2 separate regions of the Homo sapiens genome follow, and region 1 is linked to region 2. Evidence: promoter capture Hi-C in 16 types of primary human blood cells and fetal thymus (Javierre and others, 2016). All regions are on one chromosome and are shown on one strand. Each heading gives the region's core, a stretch centred on a gene start or on the middle of the fragment in contact. The rest is flanking DNA. Distances are from core to core; before and after follow the strand shown. Region 1 overlaps ATG16L1 (autophagy related 16 like 1). Region 2 holds the start of DGKD (diacylglycerol kinase delta).

Region 1 (5,451 bases), core at 1,276-3,775, 84 kb after region 2:
GGGTGCATCTGACTGCATTCTTTGTCATGTCCACAGATGTGCCTTCATATTGCTCCTCAAGCTGTCTTTTCCCTGGCCCAAACCTGCCTACTTACGTGGCTGCTCTGCTGATGGCTCGCACAGGAGAGGTCTCTTCTGTGTGATCAGAAGTTTCATCCACAATGACCTCAATGTCATCATCCCTGGAAAGAAAGGCAAGACATTCTTTGATTCTCCTGAACAGTTCTGTGATTAATCGGTTCCGCAAATGCTAATGTCATTTTCTAGTTAGATCCTAAACCACTTGGCTATGACAGCAATGCGTTAAAGATTCTTTGGAGAAAAAGGAAGAGCTGCCATGTTCTGAACAACACTACAATAAACATTTAACCTGTTCAAATCAAATCCAGAATTTCAACTGAGAATAAATTTAAAAGTGAGCTTTTGATCCTTTTAGGTATAAACACAGTTCCCACTTGAAGCAATAAAATATGATCTGTTGAGTCTATAACCACATAACCAGTGCCAAAGTAGGGCATTCCATCAACAGTCAGCATCACTGTTGAAGGGCTGCAGTACTCACCAAGCACAGTTCCCATGACACAAGGGCTGAGGGGTACCTAGGGTAGTTAGGGGCAGCAGCTATGGAATATAAAACAACAGTGTAGGGAGAATTCAGGGAAAGAAGGGATGGCTAAATGGGCCATGAAATCAACAGCCAACTTAACCCAGTTTCAAATATTACTTTAAAAAATAGAAAAGCAAAATTTAAACACTATGCATTTTTGACTCTGCGCATTTTATGCTTAAATACATAGTGTCTCTGACATTAGGAGAGCCCATCACACTTCAAATGACATAATCAAGTCATAGGACATGCTCCCTTTGTTGCTGTTTATCCCAGCGGATGCAAAGTACCTCTGGAATCCCCCTTCCTCATTTTTCTGGGCCACGTCTTTCCTACTTGGAGGAGGGCAAGTAATTATTTTGGTCTTAATGACCTCCTACTGAGATGCAACCTTCATGGAGAAGATAATTAAATGTAATAACCCAAGATTTCATCACCTACTGTTTGGATTCATAAGAACTTGACAGAAAGATTTTTCCTTTTCAATAAATAATTATCTGGATTAGGTAAATATATACTTAAGAACCTGTTACTAAGCAAGTTAAACCTGGTCAAAGTAAATTTATTTTCCTTAGCTATTTATTCCAGGACTATGTGTAATTATTGCACCACATTCTTGGCCAGGATGTAGAAGGGAATAAAAGGCAGGTCGAAAGAAAAAGGACAAGGCTGTGCTTTATTTTCTTGATTGGCTTTCCCAGGGATCTAGGTTTGCGAGAGTCACCTGTGCCCATACAAGGAAGAGAGGAGAACTGCAAAGACAGGAACTGCAAATATGAGCTGAGCCTTTGACAATGTCCTGTTGAAAATAGAATTTTATGGTTTTAAGTACTTGCAACTGTGCTTAGGCCCGGGACCACAAGAAAACACTAGCATTTGCTAAGTTATCAAAACCTTTCAAAGATGTATGTCCTCTGACCCAGAAACTCCTTAGGGAAGCATAGAGATTAAGGAGAGGCCTTAGGCCGGGCTCGGTGGCTCATGCCTGTAATTTCAGCACTTTGGGAGGCCAAGGCGGGCAGATCACCTGAAGTCAGGAGTTCGAGACCAGCCTGACCAACATGGAGAAACCCCATCTCTACTAAAAATACAAAATTAGCTGGGCGTGGTGGCGCATGCCTGTAATCCCAGCTACTTGGGAGGCTGAGGCAGGAGAGTCGCTTAAACCTGGGAGGCGGAGGTTGCAGTGAGCTGAGATTGCACCATTGCACTCCAGCCTGGGCCACAAGAGTGAAACTCCATCTCAAAATAAAATAAAATACAAAATAAAATAACAGGCTTTTACAGCCCTGTGTTTGCATCCTACCTCGGCCCCTTCCTGTATGATCTTGGGCAGGATGCTCAACCTGTCTAAATTATCCCAGTCAACCCGGTTATGCAAATGACACTTTTATAAGCTGTTATTCTGAAGAAACCAAATCTCATTTCCAGGTCAACTATTTATTTACTTTGTGGCTTGGGAAAATACAACTGAGATTAATCTTCCACATCTGAGAGTGCAGACACACACGTACCCTACATATCTAAAGCAAAGGCATGATATGGGAACCTTTGTTTCTTTGTAAATTAAGACGTTAGTTGGTGAATGACTCCTAGTTGAATTTAAACCCCTCCACTTACAGGGAAGCAACCAACATTTTAAAAAATAGTGGATCAAAACTCTAAAACTATATTCCAAAACACATTTCAATAGAAAAGAAACATCCTAGAGCGAAGGAAACTCTTTTCTACCACTATGAAAGCTTCAAATCTCAGAGAAGATACCCCACCTTAACTTGTAGGCAGATTAGGAAAAGCTCCAGAACTAGTTTGATTCCTTTTGTTCCAAGAGATCTTAGTTTTCGCTTAAGTTTCCACTTTAAGTTACAAACCAAAGGGAGCAAGGAGGGAAAAAACAAACAAAACAACAACAACAAAAACCCCACCGCATTACATGGCAGGCACAATTAAGAGGCAGAAAACTGATCGTTCAAAGTGTCAACAGGAAACAGTGAGGCAGTAACGGGTACTGAGTGCAGGAAGTTAGAATTCACATTCACAGCTGATGAACACAAACTTTTTGGAAGGTTATTTGGTGATGTTCCAAAAGCTTTGACCCATCAAATTTTATTTTCAATAATCTATCTCAAGTAAGTAATCAGAAATAGGGTCAAAGGCCGTATCAGTACATGATTTGTGAGAAATTAGAAGCCAGCAAAATACAATTAAAATGATATATGGATGTTAGTTCTGAGTGGTGGAAGAACTGTATGTTTTCATTTTCTTCCTTTAACATTTTTCTTTCTAAAATCTGTAAGATGATTTTACAGAAATAAAAACATTAGAAGCTATGATCACACCACTGCACTCCAGCCTGGGCAACAGAGCAAGACCCTGTCTCAAAAAAAACCAAACAAAAAAAAAAATAAAAACAAAACTTTTAAGAGAGCCAAATTTTCAGAAACACAGTTTTGATTCATTTATCTTTACTTACTGTTCGACTGGTAGAGGTTCCTTTGCTGCTTCTGCAAGCTCTTTCTGCAGCCGGGCTTGCCGCCTCCTGTTGGGAAAAAAAAAAAAAAAGCCCACCATTTATGTCTGCTTAAGAAAGCACGGGGTTTGGGCTCTCTAGAAGCCACCAGTTCTAATAACACATTCAGTGCATGTAAAATAACAACTACCCTGAGCAAAATACTCAAAAGTCACAAGCCCAAACTCATAACATCAGTAAGGCTCCCCTTTTAAAGGGTTTCAGAGTAAAGCCTAGAAGAGAGATAGGCCACATTATTAGAGAAAGCAGTGAACTGGCAAAGGAGGAGGCCTGCCTTCTGGGACCAAGGGTATCTTAGGATAGACACATGCCTCAGGCTCACTGAGGGTTAGTCATGGTTGTGACTTAAGTTTTCTGCAGCAAATAGTCTTACACGGGTTGAGCATCCATTACTCGAAATGTTTGGGACTACCAGTGTTTCAGATTTCGAATTTTCTCAGATTTTGAAGTTTTGCATAAACATGATATAAATCTTGAGGACAGGATCCAGGTCTAAATATGAAATTCAGTTGAAATTAATGGTAAATCGGAAATCTGAAGTGCTCCAATGAGTACTTCCTTTGAGTGTCATGTTGGCACTCAAGAAGTTTCAGATTCTGGAGCATTGTGGAGTTTGGGATATGGGATGCTCAACCTGCATTAACACACCCACAGCCTGATTACTAACAGTGAAGATTTACTTAGGACTTCCCCTTACCTGACATTGTTAATTACTTTACAGACTTTAACTCATTTAAGCCTTATAACAACCTTTTGAGGTAAATATCATTATTGCCATTTATAAATGAGGAAACTGAGGTATAGTGAGATTCTTGAAATGTCAAAGTTTACATAACATTAGTAACTTTAATTTACTAAAGCTTGACATAGAAGTCTTGGCTGTGACAAATTTTTAACATGGTCAAAGTCTCATCCACTAACTCCCCTTCTCAGAATCATTTTTGTCTCTCATTCAAGTCCTAAATTCAGAAACTCCCTAACTCCTAACCCTGACCTTACTCTCTCTTCTTTGATAAATTTCACTTCTAACTATGGCTATGCCTGCTAGGTGGAGGACCCCTAATGTAGAACTCTAGCAATGCTACTGAGCTGCAATCAAGAATTCTGCTGAAATTTCTCGTAAGTTTTTACCACGGTGGTAATTCTCAAAATGAAGGAAAGTCCTCTAGGCAGTATAGCAGAATCTTGGGAAGGGATGTGGGTATAGCTTAAAAAGTGCATTACACTCTTGATTTTATACCTGGAAGATGAAAAATAAGTTTTACAGGGCAAATTACCAAAAATACAATTTATCCAAATTGTCTTAGCTGGTAGAGACAACTGTGAACTAACTCTCTTTGAGGAAAAACCAGAATCTCGGTATAAGGTGTGTGAGTACCACTACTCTATGATTAAAGCACTTGTTGACTGTCTGAAATCTACTTTCTATAACTTCAGGTCCCAGTTCTGCAAGGTGGAGATAAAAACTTGACTTAGGGTCACAGGGAGAGGAAAACACCACCTGTTATCAGGGATTCATCACTATAGCTGAAAGGAAAGGTCTTTAATAGCTCAAACAGAGTCTCTCTCTGTCACCCAGGCTGGAGGGCAGTGACATCATCTCGGCTCACTGCAATCTCCGCTTCCTGTGTTCAAGCGATTCTCCTGTCTCAGCCTCCTGAGTAGCCGGGATTACAGCCACCTGCCACTACATCCAGCTAATTTTTGTGTTTTTAGTAGTAGAGACAGGGTTTTGCCATGTTGGCCAGGCTGATCTTGAACTCCTGACCTCAGGTGATCCACCTGCCTTGGCCTCCCAAAGTGCTGGGATTACAGGCAGCAGCCACCGTGCCCAGCCCTGAGTGCATCTTATGAAGCAGCCACTGTGCCTGACCACAGGGACACGTGGCAGCATAAGGGAAGGAGGCAGAGTGTGAAGAGCTATCTCAAAACAGTGTGCTACATATGGCCCAGGTAAACCACAGCTGCCTGAAGCAGGAAGATGAGGGACATCTAAGCTGGGGAGGCAGGAAGTGGGTAATGACGCAGGAAGGCTTCTAGGAGGAGAGGCTACCTAAGCAAAGTAATGAAGACTCCTCAGGTCCCACATCTGCAATCACATGATACCTCCAAGTGCACAGCCCTAGGAAGATGCTTCAAAGGGTGGGCTAGGGAATGAGGACAGCATTTTCACTAGGAAATGTGCATTACCCCCCGTCCACTGCACTGCTCAGGGGCTCTTCCTTGGCATCACCACACATCTCCCCAACTTCTCCCTCCAGCAGCCTCTCAGCTGACGTGAACATGCAACCTAGCAGCATCCAGCTCACCTGGG
Region 2 (4,890 bases), core at 697-3,196:
ATCATTTAGGGCTATGTGGAGATCTTCCCAAAAGCACATCTGATCCATCACCCCCATACTTTGAACAATCCTCTGTGGCCACCTCTTGCCCAAGGCCAAAAAGCAAACCCCTCAAAGGACCACCCCTTCGAAATTCAGCCCTAACCAACCCTTCCAACTAATAAGTCTAATCAACGTGATCCACCTCTGGCCCAACTTCTGATCATTTCGCAGTTGTGCCTAAAGCTCTAGACGCAAGGTTCAAATATGTAGAAGGCCATTTCTTACCCACTTAGCCTGGTGAATTCTTTATCCCTCAAGATCTCACCTTAAAGGAAACCACTCCTGCCTCCCCAGGGCAGGTCTCTGCCCCGAGTTTCCGCGGCACTTACAATGTTGTCATGTCAGGTGCACAGGCGTCCATCTCCCAACTAGACTGAGAATCCCTAGGTGTAGAAACTGCCTTCCATCTTACGGTCCTGACCATGGTTCCAACACACATCCACATTTACGACCTGTGACACCCTGGGCAAGTCATTTAACCTTGATTCTATTTCTATTCCAATTCCAAAAGACGGAGATGATAGCATCCAACTTATTGGGTTCTCACCAGTACTAATAAACTAACCATGTCAAGTGCTGTAAAGCTAACCCAAGAAAGTGCCTGGCACATAGAAGGCTTATTAAAGAATTGTTATTTGCTATTGCTATCATTATCATCACTACTGCTACTGTTATACCCGGAACAAAGCAGGTGTTCGGTACCTATTTGCTGAATAACTGGAGCACTTCACAACAAACCTGTTTGTAACATGTTAGGACCTCAGGTTCCCCCATCGCAGGTATCAAAGGCTGACAGAAGAGAAGGCTCCCACGGTGAAGGGAACGGCTGAACCTAATCCGCCCCGGAGGAAAAGCGCACTGCAGCAGGAGGAGAAAGTCCGTGCCAACCGGATCTGCCAGAGCTGCCCCAGGGACCCAGCCTGCTCGCAGCCACCTGTCCAGCCACCTGCCTGAGGAAGCAGTGTTCTAACCGGGCGGGCTCACCTGGAGCAAAAACCGTAAGCTGTTTTCAATAGGAAGCACAATGGGAAAACAAACGGTGCAACTTTCCTCCTGCAAAAAGGACGTGCGTCTTTATCTAACATTTAGCGTCAGGAGTTCTCCGTGGAGAGTTGGGTGCCAAGCGGGTGCGCGGTCCCGGCTTTGCTGAGAGAGACGGTCACTGAACGCGCATCCCTTCCTTCCCTTTTGGGATGAAGGGGTGAAGGGGTGATCCCTCGCACCCGGGTCCGAGCGGACTTCTGAGGGCACCACAGGGAAGTCTGCAGGGCACTCGCGGGACACCACCCGACCGCTCCTGAGAAACGTGCAGAACCGGGGTTTGGGGACCGCGGACGCCCGCGGGGCGCAGCCGGGAGCCCCCGCGTGGGACCCGCTCGGTGGCACGAGCGCAGTCCCCTGCATCTAGGCCTCAGTTTCCTCCGGGTCCTCGCGGCCCAACTCGGCGCGCGCCCCCCGCCCAGCGCGCGGCGCCCGGGGCGCCCACCTGCGCGCCCCCCGCCCGGCCCCACAGCCGCCCGCCGTCCGTCGGGGGCCGCGCGCTCCGCCCGGGGCGCCGGCCCGTTACAGCGGCGGGGCACGCTCGACAGGGGCGGTGACGCCCGCGGGACCCCGGGCCGGGCCGAGCCGGGCCTGGGCGGCCGCTCGGGCAGGGCCACGGGCCTCGGCCGGGGCTGCCGCGGCGTGAGGGGCGCGCGCCCGGGCCGCCGCGCCGCGGGCTCACCTTCTGTCGGATCTGACCCGACGTGGACACCTTGCGGATGAGCTTCTGTGGGGAGCCGGGCTCCGCCTCGGGCTCGCTGTCGGACGACTCCTCGGGCGGCGGCGGCGGAGGCGGTTGCGGGGGACCCGGCGGAGGGGCGCCCGCCGCCGCCGCCATGCTGCCGGGCCAGCGCGCGCACCGCGGGCGGGGGCGGGGCGGGGCCGGCGGGAGGGGCGGGGCCGAGGGCGGGCCGGGCCGGGGGCGGTGGGGGCGGCCTCCCGCCTCTCCCCGCCGCGCCCCCTGCCGGCCATGCGCGCAGCTGCAGACGGCGCCGCGCGGCCCCTCCCCGCCCCCACCTGAAGCGTCCCGGGCCCCCCGCCCACCTCTCCGGGCCGTGGCTTCTGTGTGTTATTTCTGGAACGCCGTTTGTGTTCTTGTTTCTATATTCACTTCTTAAAACATCTCTACTCTTCCGCATCAGAATGTAGGTAACCTCAGGCAGGCTGGGGCTGTGTCTGTCCTGCCCAGCCTTGTGTGGCCGAGTTTGGGGCGAGCTCGAATGCGCGCGCGCGTGCTGGAAAGAGACCCCGGTACTGGGACGGGCCTCGGGACGCCAGAGCTGGGATGCACCGCTCCATCTGGGAAGGCTTCCTGGAGAAAACGGTTCTTAAGGAGAGATGGAAAATGTGAGCAGGAGTTGTGACTAGAGAGGGAACCATGTTCTAGGCAGAGACCAGATTTGTGCAAAGGCCTGGAGGCAAGAAAGAACGAGTGTTGGGCGAAGACGGGGGAAGAAAGGGAAGCTGGTGCTTAGAGCAAGGAAAATGGCATTAAGATATGAGCCTCGGGGCGGGCAGGTCGAAGCGGGCTTTGGAAACCAGATAAGGGGATGGAAGGCAGCAGGAAGCCCTTGAGGGATTTAACCCTGGGCGGGGCTGGGTCACCACGCTGGGGCCTGTGATCCGGGCTTTGAAGTTATCAGGGCAGGTGGACGCCCTGGATTACCGAGGGGCTGAGAGATAGAGACGTGGACTGAGATCCAGGTGGGGAGTGACCAGCGACTGGAGGGAGACAGAGGTGACCAGAACGAGTCCCATGTTTCCCAGGGGGGCTGCTGGATGGTGGGCGGGTGGGGTCCAGCGCTGCTCTGGGCAGAAGAGGAGGAAGCGAAGCTGGAGATGAGATCAGCTAAGTTTTTGGTGCCATCCAGGTGGAGCAGGGCTTGGTGCCACCCAGAGGAAATGCTGTCCATCTGTCTGCCCTGCTCTGAGGGGCAAATCAGTAAGGGACTGCCCAGGTGTGCCCTCTCCCTGTCAAAGGGCTGCCGCTAGAGACCTCGCCTGCCAATAGGCATTCGCTGGCCGCGCCGCCCTGGGCAGTGACCTGGGGCTGCAGAGTGGCATCTGGCATGGGGACACGGCCAGGGGCATGGGCTCACGGCCAGGACAGAGGAGGACAAGGCCTAAGGCAGGAACAGTCCGGGACAGGCCGAAGGCCCCATGGTGCCCCAGGGTACTATAGCCACTAGCCACATGTGGCTACTTAAATTTCAATTAGTTAGAATTCAGCATTCCGTTCCTCAGCCACAGGAGCCACATTTCAGGGACTCAGTAGCCGCATGTGGCTTAGCAGCTGCCACGCTGGATAGCACAAATATAAAACACTTCCCCCGTCCCCCCAGAAAGTTCTGCAGCACAGTCGCATGCTGAACTGTGTCCTCCCGTAATTCATATGTTGAAGTCCTAACCCCCAGTACCTCAGCATGTGACTGCATTTGGAGTTAAGGTTTTTAAAAAGGTAATGAAGTTAAAATGAGGTCACAGGGGTGATCCCTAATCCGGTATGACTGGCGTCCTCATAAAAAGAGGAGATGAGGACACAGACACACACAGAGGGCAGCCCATGTGAAGACACAGGGAGAAGATGGCATCTACAAGCCAAGGAGAAAGGCCTCCGATGGAACTCCCCCTGCCGACACCGTGATCTCGCACTTCCAGCCACCAGAACCGAGAGCGTCAATTCCTGTGGTGGAAGCCGCCCGGCCTATGGTGCAGTGCTCTGGCAGCCCTAGGGAACTCATGCAGGCACAAAGGGCTCCAGCCTCCCCACAGGGTTGGGACTTTTCTATCAATTAACTACATGTGGAGTGATACACAGAGGCAAAACCCTGGAGGAGTGTGCAAGGCGGAGGAGGGGCGGGGACGCACAGGGGAAGAAACAGTTCATTCCTTCATTCCGCGGGGGAGCCGGGTGACCTGAGCAGGGTTTGGGATTGGAATGGAGAGGTCAGATATGAAGGGAGTTTCCCAGGAAAACGCAAAAACGGGGAGACTACCCCTACCAGGTGAGCAGAGCGGGTGACGAGGGATTTTGGTGAAGCCGGTAGCAAGGCGGGTGCGGGAGGCAGGGAGGTGAGCAGCGGCGCCAGGATGCAGAGTAGCCTCCCGGCCCTGCTCTGAGGCAAGGACTTCAGTCCCGTGGGCACTGGAGCTGGCAAGGGGGTTTGGGAAAGCAGAGGAACTCATGTGTCTGGGCAGAGAATGATCCATAGGAGAGAAGACTAGAAATAGGGAGGCCATTAAAATGCTGTTGCCGGCCGGGCGCGGTGGCTCACGCCTGTAATCCCAGCACTTTGGGAGGCTGAGGCAGGCGGATCACGAGGTCAGGAGATCGAGACCATCCTGGCTAACACGGTGAAACCACGTCTCTACTAAAAATACAAAAAATTAGCCTGGCGTGGTGGCGGGCGCTTGTAGTTCCAGCTACTCGGGAGGCTGAGGCAGGAGAATCACTTGAACCCCGGAGACAGAGGTTGCAGTGAGCCGAGATTGTGTCACTGCACTCCAGCCTGGGCAACAGAGCGAGACTCCGTCTCAAAAATAATAATAATAATAATAATAATAATAAATGCTGTTGCCTACACCTGTTAGGAGCTCAGGGGACATCCAGGCCCCAGAACTCATCATTTTAGAGTCAAGGAGGCAAGGGCATGAACGTGACGGTTAAGAAGCAGAAACCGTGGCTGGAGAGGAGGAAATCTGCAATTACCAGAAAGTACTGAGATTGTCACAGACAAGAGGAGCCAAGGAGACATGATGACTAAACGTCACGTGGGTTCCTAGATGGGATCCCAGAACAGAAAAAGG

What was found. Contacts are between HindIII fragments. The CHiCAGO score rates a contact against its expected background, and 5 or more counts as called.
Region 1: a contact is called between a fragment that was not itself captured here and the fragment with the promoter of DGKD in region 2, in 1 of 17 cell types (total B cells). The highest score is 6.8, in total B cells.

Annotation. Positions count from the first base shown.
Region 1 is chr2:233,267,697-233,273,147 of GRCh38, reverse strand. It overlaps ATG16L1 (autophagy related 16 like 1), which reads right to left. Exons shown (of 18, transcript NM_030803.7): 6 at 3,081-3,146; 7 at 96-182. Among named protein-coding and RNA genes, the nearest start is that of ATG16L1, 19 kb to the right of the region's middle. The HindIII fragment of the contact is 347 bases long and covers 2,352-2,698 here.
Region 2 is chr2:233,351,550-233,356,439 of GRCh38, reverse strand. DGKD (diacylglycerol kinase delta) reads right to left here and starts at 1,946. Exons shown (of 30, transcript NM_152879.3): 1 at 1,766-1,946. The coding sequence starts at 1,921. RefSeq lists a silencer at 1,757-1,996 and enhancers at 2,247-2,296, 2,437-2,496. The HindIII fragment of the contact is 8,442 bases long and covers 1-4,890 here.